Linked DNA regions of Homo sapiens: region 1 is linked to region 2. The links are contacts of gene promoters, found by promoter capture Hi-C in human tissues and cell types (Jung and others, 2019). All regions are on one chromosome and are shown on one strand. The core of a region is centred on a gene start or on the middle of the fragment in contact, and the rest is flanking DNA. Distances in the headings are between cores, read along the strand shown.

The links. The method cuts DNA at HindIII sites, captures the fragments that hold promoters and counts their contacts. A contact is called where the count stands out against the background at its distance.
Region 1: a contact is called between a fragment that was not itself captured here and the fragment with the promoter of TMEM244 in region 2, in 1 of the 25 tissues and cell types used here (pancreas).

What each region holds. Positions count from the first base shown.
Region 1 is chr6:130,000,704-130,006,090 of GRCh38, forward strand. No RefSeq gene overlaps it. Among named protein-coding and RNA genes, the nearest start is that of L3MBTL3, 15 kb to the right of the region's middle. RefSeq lists an enhancer at 377-934. The HindIII fragment of the contact is 7,212 bases long and covers 1-5,387 here.
Region 2 is chr6:129,858,307-129,864,235 of GRCh38, forward strand. It overlaps TMEM244 (transmembrane protein 244), which reads right to left and starts at 3,009. Exons shown (of 5, transcript NM_001010876.2): 1 at 2,850-3,009. The coding sequence starts at 2,882. It overlaps LOC105377999 (a long non-coding RNA gene), which reads left to right. Exons shown (of 8, transcript XR_942986.3): 2 at 1,024-1,119. RefSeq lists a silencer at 5,318-5,612. The HindIII fragment of the contact is 10,214 bases long and covers 359-5,929 here.

The DNA.
Region 1 (5,387 bases), core at 1,783-4,282, 140 kb after region 2:
CTATGGTCTGAAATCAGCCCCCAGGCTCATTTTCTTTGACAAAGAGAGTGATTGCCTGCAGGCAAAGACTGCATAGTCTTTTAGAAGACTTTTTTTCCAAGTAGTTGCTGATTTTTAAAAGTTAGAAAATGTCCCATAAAAATCCAGATTTCCACCTTTTCTTGTAAAGTGAAATATATGACCATCACACTGAGTGCACATTTCCAATGGCAACAGCAGATCCAGAGCTGCTGAGGAGAGCCGAGGAGCAGGTCCCCTCTTGACCCAGGCCTGTGCTCTCCAGCTTGCCAGCATCCCCTCCAGTTGTTCTTATCCTTCTGACTCAGAGGGCAGATGTCAGGTCCCATTTCTTATCACACCTGAACTTTTTGTTTTTCTTATGATAGAGTGAGGAGGAATGTGACATATTTTCTACTGTCTACCTCTACCATAAGCAGAAATATGCAAGCCACATGGAGGGCCACTCACTTCTTTTTCATGGCCTGCTTTATTCATTGGTATTACCCGCCGGGAACCTGTGAGCAACTGAGTTTATGACTGTTGCTATAGATAATAGAAGGGCAAGGTGAGTCAGGTAGACCAAGATAAGGATGCAGGAAAGCATGACAGTTTATGGAAAAGGGCAGCTCCTTCTATGTGATAAGTGCTTACCTTTGTTGTGCAGATTTATTGCTTGGGAATGGAGATGGGACTATTGGAGGGAGAAAAGTCAATGGTAATCAGGGATTCTTGGATGTCCTTAATCGGTTGCAGTCACATATAGTTTCCTGTTTTTCTACTTCAAGGAGCACCATGTTTACTTGAAAGAATGACAAGCAAACCACGGTTAGTCAGAGACTGTTTGGCAAATATTTTTTCAAAAATGAATAAAATAAGCCTGTTACTTGGAAGAAAGAAATGAATGATAATATGAATTGCAAATGATAAAATTTGAACTTTTAAGTAAAAATTAGAATTTTAGAAAGCTTTTATCTACCACTTTGAGCTCAACAGCTCTCAATACCTAAAAACTTTTCTGTCGTAATTGATAGTGATAAAACATATGCAATTTTTTGAAATTGTAGAATAAAATGTGTTAATATTTGGAAGATATATAATTCAGTGGATCAGTATTTTTCCAGATCTTTAAAAAATCATGCATAGGTAAAAGAACCACTCAAAATGGAAGGGAACAATATATTTTAATGTAACAGAGTATGAATAAGTATTTGATAATATATCAGATACTATAACCTTTGAGAAACTACTAGTTGTCAAGTTTTGTGTAATATCAAAGAATATCCACAATTATCTGAAAAGGCTCTAAAAATACTTCTTCGTTTCCTAGCCTCATATCTGCATGAATATTTCTTTGTATACTTCAACCAGGACAACATAGCACAATAAATTGAATGCAAAGGCAGGTATAAGTATCCAGATGTATTCTATTAGGGTAGACCTTCAAGTGATTTGCAAAAATATAACAATATACCACTCAACTTTTTTTTTATTTTGGAAAACCCAGTTATTTTTTATAAAAATATGTTATTTGTGTTAACATGTAATAAGTTTATCATTGCCATTCTGAAATAAATATTTAAATTTTTTCTCAGTTTTAATGTCTTTTTTTTTTTTTTTTGAGATAGGGTCTCACTCTGTTGCCCAGGCTGAAGTGCGGTGGCATGACCACAGCTCACTGCAGCCTCAACCTCCTGGGTTCAAGCAGTCCTTTCACCTCAGCCTCCTCAGTAGCTGCGACCATAGGCACATGCCACCATGCCTGGCTAATTTTTAAAAAATTATTTCTAGAGACAGAGTCTCCCTATGTTGCCCAGGCTGGTCTCAAAGTCCTGGGCTCAAATGATGCCCCTGCTTTGGCTTCCCAAAGTACTAGGATTACAGGATTTTAACTTCTTATGTGGTAAACATTGGTCGATATAACCCACGTAACAAAAGTTATTTGAATTCCCTATTAGGGTGTAAACTGGTCCTGAGACCAACAACCATTTGTCTATGCGTATATTAACTTTCTTCATATCTATGCTACATCCATATTATTTATGTGTATATATGTGTGTGTGTGTATATATATATATAATTTTTTTTTTTTACGTAGAGTCTCGCTCTGTCACCCAGGCTGGAGTGCAGTGGTGTGATCTCAGCTCACTGCAACCTCCACCTCCAGGGTACAAGTGATTCTCCTGCCTCAGTCTCCCAAGTAGCTGGGATTACAGGTGTGCACCACCACACCTGGCTAATTGTTGTAGTTTTAGTAGAGATGGGGTTTCTGCCATGTTGGCCAGGCTCGTCTCAAACTCCTGACCTCAAGCCATCCGCCCATCTTGGCCTCCCAAAGTGCTGGGATTACAGGCATGAGCCACCGCACCAGGCCCATATCCTTTATGTATTCTTTTCTTATACAAAACACATTGCATTTACTCTTGCTCCACCTTGCCTTCCTAACTTAACAACACGTCTTCAGAATTGACCCATATCAAGACATATAGAGATTCCTTATTCTTTTTATGGTTACATAAATCTCTTTGCAAGAAATTATGTAATTATTTATCTCTTTGCAAGAATTTATGTAATTTTTATGCCAATGTCATGCTGATGATTTGTTAAAATTATTTTGTTTATACAGACACTGCCACATTGAATAACTTTGTATCCATATCATGTCAAATGTGTGGTAAGATCTGTAGGACAAAAGTAGAAATGCTAGTCAAAGATTAAATGCATATGTAATTTCGATATATGTTGTACAATGTATAAGCTTATACTTTTTTTAAGAAAGTAAGGTATGTATTACAGCCCTATACAAATAGGCTACATCAGTGTCATAATCTGTGTTCACTTGAATACAGCAGAGTTGAGTGCTGAGTGTGTATACACATACGCAGTTTACATGCTTAGAATCAAAAGTTAATGTTAACTGATTAAAACTTGAAAATATTGAAATGAAAATTAAGCTGGAAAGTCCATTGTAATAGATAAAATGTGTTGTTGATTATTCTATATCAGTGTGATTTGGGAGAAGTCATAAGTTTTTGGTATTTGTCTGGTACATGGTTGAAACAATTTGACAACTTTTGTTGGAAGGCCTGAAGCAGCTGGCACTAACTGCACTAATGAACAGGAGGTCCCAGCATTTTCAAATCCCGAGTTCACAGTGACCATCATTACAGAGGCAAGACTTCAGAGCCAGTGGAGATGGATTCCAGGCAAAGACTGTTAAGGAAAAGCAAAACAGATTCTTGCGTTCTTGCTTAGACGCTGCAGGGAAGTGCTTGTAAGCTCATAAATATGGGATCATTAAGCATCTTTGTGTGCAGGGATGAATTTTTAAAAGAATGTTAACATTTTCAAACAATTTTTAAAATGATAGTCCTCAATTCCCCTCTTCCTGCTCCCAGCGAAACCTCACAAGTTTTTTTGGTATTTGTCAATCTTTTGGCTCATTGCAGAGTATCCCATAGCTCCTATTCTATCTTCACATATCAACGTACGTGCCATCTCCTCCGGAGTACCTCACTTGGTTCCTGATATGCAACAACCTTTTTTTGCTTCATGTTCCCATAGGACTCTGTAACTTATCTACTATAGGTTATATAATGATGTCTTATAACTGTTTATTGACAATATTTCCACTACATTTTACATCCTAAAGAGAATGATGCTATGTGTCTTATTTAATGCTTTATTCTCAGAACCTACTTTAGTGCCTGACATATAGTAGGTACTCAATAAATATTTGCTGAATTAATAAAAAATAGGAGGACAATTTTGGCTAGCATGTGGGCTCTAAGAATCTCAATAATTTTAATTTAAAAATCCCAAATCTTGGCCGGGTGTGGTTTGCTCACACCTGTAATCCCACTTTGGGAGGCTGAGGTGGGTGAATCACGAGGTCAGGAGTTAGAGACCAGCCTGGCCAACATAGTGAAACCCCGTCTGTACTAAAAATACAAAAATTAGCCAGGTGTGATGGCACTCACCTGTAGTCCCAGCTACTTGGGAGGCTGAGGTGGGAGAATTGCTTAAACCTGGGAAGCGGAGGTTGCAGTGAACCAAGACCACACCATTGCACTCCAGCCTGGGTGACAGAATGAGACTCCGTCTCAAAAAGGAAAAAAAAAATCCCAAATCTCCTAGCAACTACTTTAAGTACCTCTGTCTTCACATATTTGTTTTATTGTTTCATATACAATTTCTAGTAATACTAGTACACATAGTATTTCTGGTGTAGATATACTATGGTTTGATAAAGTGTACAATGTTATTTTCTCCTCTGTTTTCTCTACCTTCTCCCATGACCCTGATGTTATTTGCCTTATTGGCCATCAATGGCACCTTTGGCCTAACAGAAATAATGAATTCTCCAAGAAGCAATAGGATTAATCACATAAGAAAAGTAGTGATCAGTAAACTGGTTTATACACGCTGTAGCCCAGTGATGGTACTATTGGTACTATTAAGGTACTATTTTCTTTTTTTTTTTGTTTGACAGAGTCTCACTTTTTTGCCCAGGCTGGAGTACAGGAGTGCAGTGGTGTGATCCTGGCTTACTGCAACCTCCACCTCCTGGGTTCAAGTGATCCTCCCACCTCCGCTTCCCAAGTAGCTGGTATTACAGGGCACACACCACCATACCTGGCTAATTTTTGTATTTTTAGTAGAGATGGGATTTACAGTTTGAACAAAATGTATTTCTTTTCCTTGGTTTCCAAACTTTCTTAGGCCAACCAAAGAAAATGGAATTTGAAGGTGTGGGTAATTTATCACCATCTCTTATTTATAAAAAAGCTTATGTGTTAGCTCATAATGAGCAGGAAAAAGTGAGAGCAGCAGTTGCCCAACATTTTTGGTACCAGGGACCAGTCTCGCGGAAGACAGTTTTCTACAGACTGTGGGGCAGGAGGGCAGTGGGGGAGGGTTTTGGGATGGTCCAAGTGCATTACATTTACTGTGCACTTCATGTCTATTATCATTACACTGTAATATGTAATGAAATAATTATACAACTCACCATAATGTAGAATCAGGGGTGCTCTGAGCTTGTTTTCCTGCAACTAGATGGTCCCATCTGGGGGTGATGGGAGACAGTGACAGATCATCAGGCATTAGATTCTCATAAGAAGCATACAACCTAGAACCCTCACATGTGCAGTTCACAATAGGGTCCATGCTTTTATGAGAATCCAGTGCCACTGCTGATCTGACAGGAGGGGGATCTCAGGCAGTAATATGAACAATGGCGGTGGCTGTAAATGCAGATGAGCTTTGCTGGCTCACTCGCCTGCTGCTCACCTCCTGCTGGGCACCGGTTCCTAACAGGCTACATACTGGGGGTTGGGGACCCCAACACTAAAAATTAGAGCATCAGGAAACTTCTTCTGTGTTCCCTG
Region 2 (5,929 bases), core at 1,759-4,258:
AAGACTTAGGAGAATTCTTTTGTGAAATCTAGGCCTAGTCCTTCTGTAATAGCCTTCTCCATTTAGTCTATGGAAACTGGAAGCCCTTGTGTGATTTTGCAAAGCAGAATGTTCCCATTGCCTACAGTAGCTTCACTCTTCTTTACAGAGCAAGTAGCTATATTCTCTAGGTCTGGCTCATATATCATCTTCTCACTCCACCCCTCACTGCAGGACAGAATCAATCTCTATCTTATTTTAATTGCTTCCATAATATTATATTTGTCTTATAGATCTCATCAAATTTGTATTGTAGCATACCTACTTTTGGAGGTATACATTTCTTTCTCCAGTCTCTAAAAGACAGACACTGATTTGACCACATTTAATTCTTCAGCCCCCAAAATATTGGTCAGGCTTTCATAGGTATTCAATAAATATATTTTGAATAATAATCATGGAAGGAAGGAAAGAAATAATGGAAGACAAGACCACTATAGTAGGAACCATAGTCTTTTTTTTTTTTGAAACAGAGTCTTGCTCTGTCACCCAGGCTGGAGTACAGTGACACAATCTCAGCTCACTGTAACCTCTGCCTCCCGGCTTCAAGGAATTCTCTTGCCTCAGCCTCCCTGAGTAGCTGGGACTACAGGTGTGCACCACCACACCCAGCTAATTTTTGTATTTTTAGTAGAGATGGGGTTTCACCATGTTTACCAGGCTGGTATCGAACTCCTGACCTAAAGTGATCGTCCGGTTTGGCCTCCTAAAGTGCTGGGATTACAGGCATGAGCCACCACGCCTGGCCGGAACCATAGTCTATTAATAAAGTATGTGGACTCTAAGTCAGATCCACTGGAGTTTCTCCCCCAGTTCATCACTGACAAGTGTGTGACATTGGCTGGTTACTTTCTGAGTTTTGTTCTACTCATCTACAGGTAAAGTTTCATAAGGGATTTGTATTCTGAACATGTATACAATTCTTAACATTAAGTACTGTATGTTCCCAATAGATAATACTTTCTCTCTTACTTCTCCCCATAGGAAAGACTGCATTGTAGTTCTTTGGACAATTCCTGGAGAAATCATGAGATATGACTCTCTCACTTGTAGAATCACAGCAAAGGCTCCGTCCTACTGGTAAGTAGTTCCCTCTGAAATTGCCTGAATGAATGAAATTCTCCAGTTCAGGTGAACAACTCTGAGGATATGCAGGAATGTGTTGTGCTTCTGAGATTTTTACAACATTTGTTTTACAGAGGAAAGTTTACATTAGTTTAACATAGTTAGGAAACATGCCGTCTACTGGAGTAGAATACATTGTATTCTGAACAGTTTAGCAGTCCTCATACTTGGGCTTTCTTCCCAGTTCTTGTGCTATTTTCCCAGACAGCAAATTAATTAAATGGCCTTTGGCCATGACTCTTTCCCTTGAGTCAGCTTTTCTGTCATTTAAAGTGTACAGATAGGGGGGATTTAATTAGCCCAATGCCTGGCACATTGCATGCACTCAATAAATGTTTGTTGAGTATTCGAGTTATCTCTAGATGAAGGTCACTTTTGCTATTACTATTAATTTATAAGCATATCAGTAATTCTTGTGCTGATAATATTGACAGTGAACAAGCACTTAAAAGAAAAGTTAACTCATAACTTATAGGGATGTATCATGAGAATTCAGATAGTCAACAACCTATCTATTTTGAACATATTCACTATTCTTCTAATGTTCTAAGGCTCTAATTCTACACTTGAAGCTCAGATGATTCTAAGATAGTGAGGAACTGCAGCAACTATCTGGATATTTTCTCTGCAATGCGTGTGTGTGTGTGTGTGTGTGTGTGTGTGTGTGTGTGTGTGTGTCTGTCTGTCTGGTCTGTGTAAGCCCCGACTAAATATAGAGCCCCCATTCTTTGTGTAAGCTACTTAAGAGAAAGGATTTTATCTTCTAATTTTTATCTCTTCAGCAGAAGTTATTATTGCTAGTTCAATCCCAAATCTATACATAAATTACGAAGTTTAATAACCCCTTAAAAATAAGCTTTTTAAAAATATTTTTCCTGAAATAATGTTTTACTGACCTTGAAAATTTTTCTTAGCTGTTGTCATGCTCAACATTTCTCACTGATGACATATGTGGTGATGATGGTAGTGTAAAGAAAAAGCTTGAGGAAATACACACGGTGCTGATATTTTACTAAAATGAATGTAGCACTCACTCATAATTGTAATTTAATTTTTAAGTAAAAATCTGATTTTCCACTATCATTCCCTTAAGTCTGGCTCATTATAGGCCTAAAGCCTGTATGAATTTACACAGCTGCTTTGAGGCTTTGCATATTTCCTTGTTTTCGATTGTTTGATTTTTTTTTAAAGGGGTATTTTTGCACTGAAGTAAAACACAACTATTAACACTAGCCTCGGGGGAAAAAGAAACTAACAAACCTACAGCTTGAAATGTTTCAACACTTTGCATTTAAAATTTTGCGCACCCTTTAGAAGTTACAAAAATAAAAGCCACTCCCTGCAAAAAAAAAAAAGAAAAAAAGATTGAGAACAAACTGTCATGATTTCAGAAAACGATAGCAGACGTGCAGGTGCTAATACCAGAGAGCTTACCTCCGAATAAAATGGTGCCTTCTAAACAGCGACTATTTACATGTTTTAGAATCCTTTCTTGGGCATGGGTGCCTTTATATTGCCCTATTACCACAAGATGCAAGCCGTGCAGCAGAATGTTTTCTGTATGGTACCCAGCCAAAAGTGAAACAAGTTGCCCACTGACAGAGAGGCCATTTATAGAACATATTCATTTACACCAGTGCTAGGCAGCAACTGAAAGGCAATGCAAAGAAGTAATTTCTCTTTACCTTGCTTGGAGCAACTCTGACCTGGAGAGCCATGTACACATCCTACGTCAAGGAGGTGATGAAAGCCCCACTCCTTATAGCGATGACATCTGGAAGAAGACACAATTGTCACCGTGAGCTTTTCAATTACTCCTGGAGACTAAGTGTGAGACGCAGTAGTGCAGGATGATTGGATTACGCAAAACGAGACAGATGCCATCTGTGAGCCACGCGTAAGCTGCTAAGTGCCAAAATGAACATCCTTATTAAACGATGGAGTTCTCATACCATTTGTAGTTTGGTCAGATTTGAAAGATGAGTTGATTGTTTTTAGATAGTGCGGCAAATAGGCAGGGACTTGGAATCCTCTCTGGCTGTATGAGTAATTACTGTCTCATACTTAAATTAGAAACATGGGTTTTCAGTTAGGTCTTGAGATTGTTTCCAAAGGATGCTGCTGCATTCATGTTGAAGCGTGGCCTGTCCTCTCTGTTTCACTCACAAGGGCCACAGAGTTCTGAGAAAGAAATCATCAGTTCCTTTCACATCATGGCAAAGAAATGTAAAACTTATGACTTTTTGTTAGGAAACAAAAGGGTTCCCATACTCTAAAATAATGGCCACAATATTGTGGGTAGAATGTTTTCAAGAACTGCCAGGAGGCAGTATTGGAGCTCTGTCTCTCTGCGTCCTGAGGCTCCAGAACCAATCCTTCATTTACAATTCATTCTCCCATCTTTTTACTGGCACCAACTCTATTATTATTTTTATTTTAATTTTTAATTGCTGTGATTACATAGTAATATAGTAATATACCCCATAGAGTTTATGGGGTACATGATATATTTTGATATAGGCATCTAATATGTAATGATCACATCAAGGTAAGTGGGATTTCCATCACCTCAAGCATTTATTCTTTGTGTTACAAGCAATCCAATTATACCCTTTTAGTTATTTTTAAATGTACAATTAAATTATTATTGACTATAGTCACTCTGTTGTGCTATCAAATACTAGATCTTATACATTCTCTCTCTTTTTTGTATGCATTAACCATCCCCACACTCCCCCTTTTCTCCCACTACCCTTCCCAGCTTCTGGTAACCATTCTTTTACTTTCCATCTCAATGAGTTCAATTGTTTCCATTTTTAGTTCCCACAAATAAGTAGGAACATATGAAGTTTGTCTTTCTGTGCCTGGTTTATTTCACTTAACATAAGGACCTCCAGTTCCATCCATATTGTTGCAAATGACAGGATTTCATTCTTTCCTTTGGCTGAATTCTATTCTGTACCTGTACCACATTTCTTTATCCACTTGTCTGTTGATGGACATTTAGGTTGTTTCTTAATCTTGGATATTGTGAAACATGCTGCAATATACATGGGCATGCAGATACCTCTCCGATAGACTGATTTCCATTCTTTGGGGTATATGCTCAGCAGTGGGATTGCTGGATCATATGGCAGTCCTATTTTTCTCTTTTGAGGAACCTCCAAACTGTTCTCCATAGTGGCTGTACTAATTTACATTCCCACCAGCAGTGTATGAGGGTGTCCTTTTCTTCACATCCTCACCAGCATTTGTTATTGCCTGTTTTGGGATAAAAGCCATTTTAACTGGGGTGAAGTCATATCTCTTTGTAGTTTTGATTTGCCTTTCTCTGATGATCGATGATGTTGAGCACTTCTCACATACCAGTTTGCCATTTGTATGTCTTGTTCTGAGAAATGTCTATTCAGATATTTTGATCATTTTTAAATCATATTATTAGATTTTTTCCTCTACAGTTGTTTGAGCTCCTTATATATTCTGGTTGTTAGCCCCTTGTCAGATGGGTAGTGTTTGAGTATTTTTTTTCCCATTCTGCGGGTTGGTGTCTTCACTTTGTTGATTGATTGCTTTGCTGTGGCACCAACTTTAGATGGGAACTTAGCTGTGCCCTGTAATCCTTTTTCCATTACAGCATCTTGTTAACCGCTATAAAGAGCACATTCTGCAATATCTACCTGCATACCAAAAGCAAAGGTGAAAAGAGTGCCTTCAGCAAGTCCAGGCCTTGATAGTTTTCATCTGAATATGTTATTGAATTTGACATTCATAATGCATATTAATAACACTGTCAATGCTCTTTTATTAATATACCTTAGATAAATCTTTTAATGTGTGGTTGCCCTGTTCTCTGCTTATATTGTGAGTTCTTGCAGAAAAAGACTTTTCTGCCTGCTGGTAACATTGTAACAGCTCCCAGTGTTGTCTTCAGATTTCAGCACACGGTGGACCCTCAGTAAATGCTGATTGTCCAAATCCCATGCCCTGCCCTATTTGTAACAGTGATGACCCAGAATTTCTCCTTAAAGAGGGCAGGCGGAGGCCAGGTGTGGTGGCTCATGCCTGTAATCCTCGCACTTTGGGAGTCAGAGGCAGACGGATCACAAGGTCAGGATTTCGAGACCAGCCTGGCCAACATAGTGAAACCCCGTCTTTACTAAAAATACAAAAAATTAGCTGGGCATGGTGGCGGGCACCTGTAATCCCAGCTACTCAGGAGGCTTAGGCAGGAGAATCGTTTAAACCAGAAGGCAGAGGTTGCAGCGAGCCGAGATCGCGCCATTGCACTCCAGCCCTGGCAACAATGAGGGAATCCGTCTCAAAAAAAAAGGGGGGCAAGTGGAACTTCCTGGGAGTCATAGCACAGCATAAAGCAGAGGATTTGTGCCTGACTCACTCTACTCCCAACACAGGCTGCTTTGTGCACAACTCAGATGCCTTCTGAGTTACTCAGGTAAACAATAACCACCCAAAAACTATCCTCTCAGGAAGTTGGCACCATACATTGGGAACTAATACTCCAGCACTCTATTGGATAAAATACTGAAAAGTACTAATTTTCTATAATTACATTGGAAAAAAATTTGATGACCAATAGTCTAATGAGTAGAGATTATGTGTGTATGGGTATTTACATCTATAATAAGCATCTTTTTTTTTTTTCATCAGAGACACCGCACTGGATTTAAGCATTATTTTTTGAACTGCTACTGTGATCTATTGCGAGAATAAGGCATGAGGCATACACATACACATTTAGCAACTA